3 separate regions of the Homo sapiens genome follow, and all the other regions are linked to region 1. The links are contacts of gene promoters, found by promoter capture Hi-C in blood cells and fetal thymus (Javierre and others, 2016). All regions are on one chromosome and are shown on one strand. The core of a region is centred on a gene start or on the middle of the fragment in contact, and the rest is flanking DNA. Distances in the headings are between cores, read along the strand shown.

The links. Contacts are between HindIII fragments. The CHiCAGO score rates a contact against its expected background, and 5 or more counts as called.
Region 2: a contact is called between a fragment that was not itself captured here and the fragment with the promoter of MAP1LC3B2 in region 1, in 3 of 17 cell types (naive B cells, total B cells and M1 macrophages). The highest score is 5.2, in naive B cells.
Region 3: a fragment that was not itself captured here is called in contact with the fragment with the promoter of MAP1LC3B2 in region 1 in 4 of 17 cell types (M0 macrophages, neutrophils, naive B cells and 1 more); the score reaches 5.5 in M0 macrophages.

Annotation. Positions count from the first base shown.
Region 1 is chr12:116,558,052-116,560,751 of GRCh38, reverse strand. MAP1LC3B2 (microtubule associated protein 1 light chain 3 beta 2) reads right to left here and starts at 1,371. Exons shown (of 2, transcript NM_001085481.3): 1 at 1,319-1,371. RefSeq lists enhancers at 778-877, 918-967, 1,188-1,527, 1,367-1,876. The HindIII fragment of the contact is 18,876 bases long and covers 1-2,700 here.
Region 2 is chr12:116,453,193-116,455,892 of GRCh38, reverse strand. No RefSeq gene overlaps it. Among named protein-coding and RNA genes, the nearest start is that of MIR4472-2, 26 kb to the right of the region's middle. RefSeq lists an enhancer at 710-1,248. The HindIII fragment of the contact is 1,115 bases long and covers 839-1,953 here.
Region 3 is chr12:116,436,380-116,439,079 of GRCh38, reverse strand. No RefSeq gene overlaps it. Among named protein-coding and RNA genes, the nearest start is that of MIR4472-2, 9.4 kb to the right of the region's middle. The HindIII fragment of the contact is 5,987 bases long and covers 1-2,700 here.

The DNA.
Region 1 (2,700 bases), core at 122-2,621:
TGTCATTGGATTTGAGGTCCACCCAGGTAGTCTAGGATGATTCAATCTTGAGATCCTAAAATTAATTTACACCTGCAAAGATCCTTTCTCCATTAAGGTCACATTCACAGGTGCTGCAGCACATTAGACTGTGGACATATCTTTTCTTTTTTTGGTGGAGGTGTGACTGGGGAGACACTATTAAACCCACTACAGTGTAAAAGTAGGCCAGATGTGATGGTTCACACCTGTAATCCCAAGACTTTGGGAGGCCGAGGTGGGCGGATCACTTGAGGTCAGGAGTTCGAGACCAGCCTGGCCAACATGGCGAAACCTCGTCTCTACTAAAAATACAAAAATTAGCTGGGCGTGGTGGCGCACCTGTAATCCCAGCTAGTCGGAAGGCTGAGGCAGGAGAATCACTTGAACCCAGGAGGCAGAGGTTGCAGCGAGCCGAGAGCGCGCCACTGCATTCCAGCCTGGGCGACAGAGGAAGACTCTATCTAAATATATATATATACATATACATACATATATATATATATATATATATATATATATATATATATATATATATATATATAGCCAAACTTAGCTTTATTTCAGAGCCGTTGCTGGGCCTGGGAGTGGAGAGAGATCAGGAGAGCGCCACCAGCTTGGATCGGTTAGTGAGCTGCGGTGGTTTTTGTTTTTGTTTTTTTTTTCTTGACAGTGTCTCCTATTGTTTTGTATTTCTCTTTTGTTTTGAGGTTTTCTGCCATCTTTTCTGGAAGGTGCATGATGCTCAGCTCTGTGGTTATTTTTGCCCAACAGCTGTGTTTCCGGTGAGCGGCTGTGGGATTCTTCTGACTCAGCAAAACTGGAGCAGTAACCGTCAAGAAGCCATTCAAGCAAGGCTAGAAATAAAGAAGCTGTTTCTTCACCGTCCCCTCCTCCTCCTCTCACTTCCCTCCCCATGGGTACCTTTTGAAAGTCTCACAAAGCACTTTGAAAAAACTACTTGGACCAGTATGCTGGAGGGTTGACTGAAGGTGGCCCCTCCGCTGGGCTTTAAGCAAACAGATAAATTCTGGAAAGGACTCTGCCCTGCCAGCCTGGCTGTGGCCTTCGGAAGGCCCCTCCCAACATGCCCCCACCCGCCGATCACATGGACTGTGTCTTACAAGTTTCCCACAGGTCTGACTAGTGAAAGCAGAGGCTGTGGGGACTTTTGTGGTTTTTCTAGGGTGTGGCCCCACTTTGCCTTCACCAGGCCTGAGTATCTATGCCGTGCAGCTTGCCTGCTTCTCAAAGGTCATGATTTCCACCCTGGGGCTGGGAGGCAGCTACATATTCCTACCCGCTGGCACAGGATCTGGCCCTGCACTCCCGAGAGGTGGCTGCGAGCCTTGCGGAGGCAGAGAGAGAACAAAATGGAAAGGAATCTTCCTCCCGGAGAGCCATCTTCTGTGCATGCCGGTGCCTGCAAAAGACAGGCGAGGCGAGACAGCTGCACCTCGGGCCTCGTCGCTGTTGCTGAGAAAGAAAGGAACAAATAAATTTAGCTCCATCCTACGCATCCTTTGCAGCTGCTGATTGACCAAACAGAAAGAGGCCTCTATTTCAACCCTGGCTTCTCAGCTTTTTGCCTGATGGGGTCTGCTATCGCCCTTTACAAGGGACTTTTGAAGGAGGAAACGGGCCGTGGCCTTATTTAGCGCCTGGCCGGCTGGAGGCTGCACAGACAGGAGTTCAAGTTTAGGGTGTCTCTTCTTGCCCATCCCAAAGCAAAATGGTGGCCCGGAAACGTTTCCAAATGGGCTTCGGCTCCTGGAATTTCCAATGTATTTATTTGGAAGCCAGAACATGGTGGGTGGAGAGATGTGTAACTGTGCCGAGGCCAGCCTATAGCTCCCGAAGCCATTAGTTTAATAGCACCATTTGTGGAAATAAAGAACTCGCTGACTGGGCTTGAAGGTAAAAGACTGGAACGAAGCACTGAGGGGGTTTCGTGGGGCTCACTAGCGTGGAGAGGTCCCTGCGGGATGGGGGACAAGCTGTGTGGACTTTGAGTCAGATAGACTTGGGTTCCAGTCCTAGCTCTATCACCTAAAGGCACGTTGTCTCTGGACAAAGAGAGCCTTTGCTCTGTGATATGTAAGTGAAATGCTAGCTGTGACACTGAACCTCTCTGAGCCTCAGTTCCTTATCTGTAAAACAGCAATGATGACACGAGGTCGTCACAAGGATTAAATGACAAAGAATACTGAACCTACATAGCCCAGCTCTTGCTGTGCCATGATGGTGTAGAGTGGCCCCTGTTTGACCTGCCCAGGCCCATTCTCCAAAGAAGCTGTACAGGTGAGGTGGCTCACCCCTGTAATCCCAGTACTTTGGGAGGCCGAGAAGGGAGGATCACTTGAGCCCAGGAGTTTGAGGCCAGCCTGGGCAACATAGAGAGACCCCATCTCTGCAAAAAAATAAAAAAAATTAGCTGGGTGTGGCGGTGCACGCCTGTGGTCCCAGCTACACAGGAGGCTAAGGTGGGAGGATCCCTTGAGCCCAAGAGGTCCAGGCTGCAGCCTGGGTGACAGAGCAAGACCCTGTCTCTAAAAAAAAAAAAAAAAAAAAAAAATAGAAGGTGTTTCTTCCCCAATCCTCTCCTTTCATTTCCCTCCCCGTGAGTACTATTTGGAAGTCTCACACGGCACTTTTTAAAAACCACTTTAAGTCCGGGTGCAG
Region 2 (2,700 bases), core at 147-2,646, 100 kb after region 1:
CCTGGAAGGATTTATGATCTCACACTGCCATGACATCACAATGCGTTGCCATGGGTCCCACTTTATTATCATAAACAAAACGCCGTTCCTTGGGCCACTGCCTGTCTGAGCAGGAGGGGAGAAAAAGCCTCTGGGTAATGTGTTTTCTTGGGAAGGCAGCTTGTTCGGAAGTCTGAAAAGCTGCAAAGATAGTTGTACATACAGTTCCCTCCCTGTAGCCTCTGGACAAGGTTTGGGACGGGAACAAGAAGGATGAAGTCAGCTCCCTGCAGGAGGATCTCCAGCTCCGCGTGTTCTCACTGCCAAAAAGCAGCTTCCCCGGGCCTCCCTCACTGCTCCAAACAATGTTTTTATTCATTCACCGAAAATGCATGGAGTACCTACTGTGTGCTAGACACTGACAGAGCTGGGGCAGGGATCAATGAAAAACGTGACGCCAGCCCCACCCCTTTCAGAATCTTTAATACTTAACAGCCCGCAAATAACATGAATGTGTAAAATTGTAATTTGGGTTAAGTCTGCTGAAGGAAGCAAACAGGAAGCTAGGATGAGAATGGAGGGAAGAGGCTATTTACATGAGCAATCTGGGAGGGCCTCTCTAAGGAGGTGACATTTTAGACCAGACTTGAAGGAGAAGTAGGAATTGGCTGTGAAGGGCAGAGGGAGGTGGCAGTAACTAAGGCAGGACCAGCCACACCAGGAAGAGTGACCGTCGGGATCTAAGTTCCCACCAGGGGCCTCTTCCCACGTATTTTATAGAATTCCTGGGTAGCTGACTCAGATGAGAGGGCTTATTATGAGGAATCATCGTTGTCATGAGTCTGAGCTGAGTAAAGCTTCCGCACCCTGCCACAACCATGCCAGAAAACCCTCATTTCCATTGCAGAACTGTCAGATCGGCACTGTGAAAACAAGTCAGCCAAGAGCAGAAATACCTGTAGGACGCAGAGGGGGCTCTCCCCAGCATAAGGCCATTTTGCAAGAAGCAAATAATGCTCTTAAGCAGCAGGAAGGAGAGAGGGAAGGGAGGGGAGAGAAGCCTTGGGGACAGATGTGGGGGCACTGCCTGTGGGTCAGGAGGCCAGGTGAAGGACAGGTGGGTAAGCCGTCCCCGCCCCTCCCAGGAGATGAACCATGAGGGAGTTAGGACTCTGGATATAGAAGAGAACGAGAGGCCAGGCATGTTGGCTCACACCTGTAATCCCAGCACTTTGGGAGTCTGAGGCAGCAGATCACCTGAGGTCAGGAGTTCAAGACCAGCCTGGCCAACATGGTGAAACCCCGTCTTTACTAAAAATACAAAAATTAGCCAGGCGTGGTGGCAAGTGCCTATAATCCCAGCCATTTGGGAGGCTGAGGCATGAGAATTGCTTGAACCTGGGAGGCTAAGGTTGCCTCCCATGTTCCAAGACCGCACCACTGCACTCCAGCCTGGGCAACAAGAGTGAGACTCTGTCTGAAAAAAAAAAAAAAGAAAAAGAATAGAACGAGAGCTTCTAGATCATCTGAACAATGATGGGGACACGGAGGCCCCAAGTAGAGAAGGAGCTGGCCTGAGGTGGTACGGGAAGTTAGGCGCAGAGCCCTTCCGCTCACTTGCTGTGTGACCTTGGGAAGCTCACTTCACATCTCTGAGCCCCTGTCCCCACTGTAACATGGGAAGAATGCATATAAGGCTCTTTACACTGCTGCAATATATAGAGAGGGTTGTTTTTTGACCCCTACTTCCTGGAGAACACGTTCATTAAACCATGCTGGCTTCCCATTTGTTAGTTCATTTCATACTCAGGGTGGCCCTGACAGGTAAACATGGCTGTCCATGCTTTACAGATAAAGAAACTGAGGCCAAGAGGGGTTGAGTAACACACTCAAGGTTCCACAGCCAGGTATAAGGGCCAGATCCCCACCCTACCTGCCTGACTTCAAATGGAGTCCGTGTTCCCGACAGAAGCTTGGCCTTGTCCTGGGATGCATGAATGTGTGTATGGATAATTGGTACTGACCCAGAGACACAGAGCTAGGATGGAGACAAGGCTGAAGAGATGAGAGACCCAGCTTGCTGGCCAACAGTGATGGTGTGCCAGAGGACAGAAGAGACGCCAGGATGTGGGAGAGAAGAGAGGACTCCAGTCTGCATGCTGAGTGATATGTCCAGATGCGTGAATCTTTTTTGAATCTTTTTTTTTTTTTGAGACAGAATCTCGCTCTGCCACCCAGGCTGGAGGGCAGTGGCATGATTTCGGCTCACTGCAACCTCCACCTCCATGGTTCAAGTGATTCTCCTGCCTCAGCCTCCCAAGTAGCTAGGATTACAGATGCATATCACCATGCCCGGCTAATTTTTGTATTTTTAGTAGAGATGGGATTTCACAATGTTGGCCATACTGGTCTTGAACTCCTGACCTTGTGATTCGCCCGCCTCGGCCTCTCAAAGTGCTGGGCTTACAGGCATGAGCCACGCTGCCCCATGATTCTAATTTTTATGTAAGATGCATATCTTAGGCTTTCAGATCAGAGTAAGGAAGACTCAGTAGGAACACCAGTAACTCAGCTAGAGCCAGCTGGGTGACAGAAAAAGCATCTGGATGAGAAATTAGGGGATGTGCAGGCCATTAGATCAGGAGCCAGGCATCTCAGATTCTAGAGAAGTGCTGGGTTTAATGTCTATTTATTCCTGGGCCAAGCACTTGACTGCCCTTG
Region 3 (2,700 bases), core at 99-2,598, 120 kb after region 1:
AGGTGTCCCTGGCATAGCTGCCTCCAAGTTACCAACTCCAAGTGACCCAGCTCTCTCTCAACTCACACACACAGCCACGTTCTCCCCAAGGCACCTACATACCACCCGGAGGCAGGCCCTTTAAGACCAGTGCAGCCCGGAGCTTCTCAGTCTATCGGGCTCTTCCATGTAAGATTAATTCTTGGGCCGGGCGCAGTGGCTCACGCCTGTAATCCCAGCACTTTGGGAGGCCAAGGCGGGTGGATCACGAGGTCAGGAGATCGAGACCATCCTGGCTAACACGGTGAAGCCCTGTCTCTACTTAAAAAAATACAAAAAGTAGCTGGGCATGGCAGCGTGCGCCTGTAGTCCCAGCTGCTGGGGAGGCTGAGGCAGGAGAATGGTGTGAACCCAGGAGGTGGAGCTTGCAGTGAGCCGAGATCGCACCACTTCACTCCAGCCTGGGCGACAGAGCGAGACTCCGTCTCAAAAAAAAAAAAAAAAAAAAAGATTCTTTCTGGCAGGACTCAAATTGCTCTTCTTGCAGTCTGGCTTCTGTAGGGCTCTCCTGCAAATCTGGAAGACATGGCTCTGTGCACAAGACCCCGTGGCAGACAGGGCCTCATCTCCACCGGCATGAAAAATTGGTGATTATGAAACAAACAAAATAATAAGTGTTGGTGAGGGTGTGAAGAATCAGAACCCTTGTACATTCCTTCCATGCTGCATTCCCACGTGTTACACATGTTACACTGGTGGGGGAATGTCACATGGTGCAGTTGCCTTCAGAAACAGTTTGGGAGTTCCTGAAAATGCTAAACATACAGTTGCCCTAAGACCCAGCAATCCCACTCCCAGATATCCCAGATATACACCCGAGAGTCAAAAACATATGTCCATATAGAAACGTGTACACATAGCAAGTGTAATGTACATAGTATTATTCATAAAAACCAAAAGGTGGACGTGACCTAAATGGCCATCGTTGAATGGGAAGATGAGCAAATCGTGGCATAGCCATGCAACGGAATATGATTTGGCAGTAAAGGAATGAAGTATTGACACACGCCATGCCATGGATGAATCTAGCAACATCATGCTGAAGAAGTGAAGGAAGCCAGAAACCAAAGGTTGCAAATTGTATAATTCCATTTCTATGAAGTGTCCAGCATAGGTAAATCCATAGAGACGGAAAGCACATGAGTGAGTGGTTGCCAGGGTCGACAGGGAGAGGGGCAGGGAGGGGAGAGAATAGGAGCAGAACGAGTGAATGAAAGATAGCGGGTTTAGGGTTTCCTTCTGCAGTGACAGAAATATTTTGGAACTTGATAGAGGTGGTGGTTGCAGAATCCTGGGAATGTAGTAAATGCCACTGTGTTGTACCTTTCTGTCTTTTTTTCTTCCCCTTCCTTCCTTCCTTCCTTCTTTCTTGACAGAGTCTTGCTCTGTTGCCCAGGCTGGAGTGCAGTGGCACAATCTCAGCTCACTGCAACCTCTACCTTCTGGGTTCAAGTGACTCTCCTGCCTCAGCCTCCTGAGTAGTTGGGACTATAGACGTGCGTCACCACACCTGGCTAATTTTTGCATTTTTAGTAGAGACGGGGTTTCACTATGTTGGCTAGACTGGTCTCAAACTCCTGACCTCAGGTGATCTGCCCACCTTGGTTTCCCAAAGTGCTGGGATTACAGGCGTGAGCCACCGCACCTGGCCAACAACGGTCTATTTTGCTATTGCATTTTGCTTCAGTTTTTTAAAAAATCAGTTATTATGAATGGAGGACGCGTCAGGGAGGCAGGAAAGAGGAATGATGTCCAACTCCACCCCCAGAAATACCCAAACCCACTTTTTGCCTGGTCCTGAACCCCTTTCTCCTAATGTGTGTCCAGCTCAGAGTCAGACACATAGTAGGTGCTCAACAAGTGTTGGTTTCTCCCCCTCCCCCACACTGCCAGCTCCTGGTATAAAGGGGGAAAAAATCTCATAACCAATGTAACTGCCGCACTTGAACCTTTGGACTGAATCACATCTGCCACTTAGGGAGGGTCGTGTTTGCCTTGTGCTCGGACTGCAGCCTGCACTTTGGGCTCAGTGTTATCTGCGGGCCCTGCCAGCTTGCGAAAACCCTGCCCAGCACCAGCCCACGCAGGCAGAATTACACGTTATGCTGGGTCTCCCTGCATTTTCTGAGCTGGCATCTTAATGAACTATTGATTAGGGTCTTTCGGGCCTGGCTAGGATTCCCCTTTTGCAGAGAGCTGCAAGTTCCCCTGGTTGCACCAATCGTCCTGGAAAGGCCTGGTTCCATGGCCGCTGGCCAGAGTCTGCACCTTCGGGAAAGTTTTGTTCTCAGGCAGTTCCCGAGGCTCCCTGGGCTAGAAGCTATTCTTGGGGTGTTTAGGGGGCTGTGGGGGCAGGAACAACAGCTGTGGCTCTGCTCACCTCTGTCGCTCCCAACCAGAATGTGAGCACCTGCTGCAGGCCGGGCATGGGCTAGGGGTGGATGTAGAGCTAGATGAGTTAGCTGAATCTTACATCCCAAGGAGTTCAGAGTTGAGAGAGGAGGAGGGAGAAGCAGGCAATTGCTCCTGTAAGATACACAGCAGGGACAGCTGCACAATTTGTGCAGCCCGGGGCGAAATGAAAATGCAGAGTCCCTTGTGCAAAAATTATTACGAAGTTCAAGTTGGTGACAGCAGAGCTTCGAGAGAGCATTACCCTTC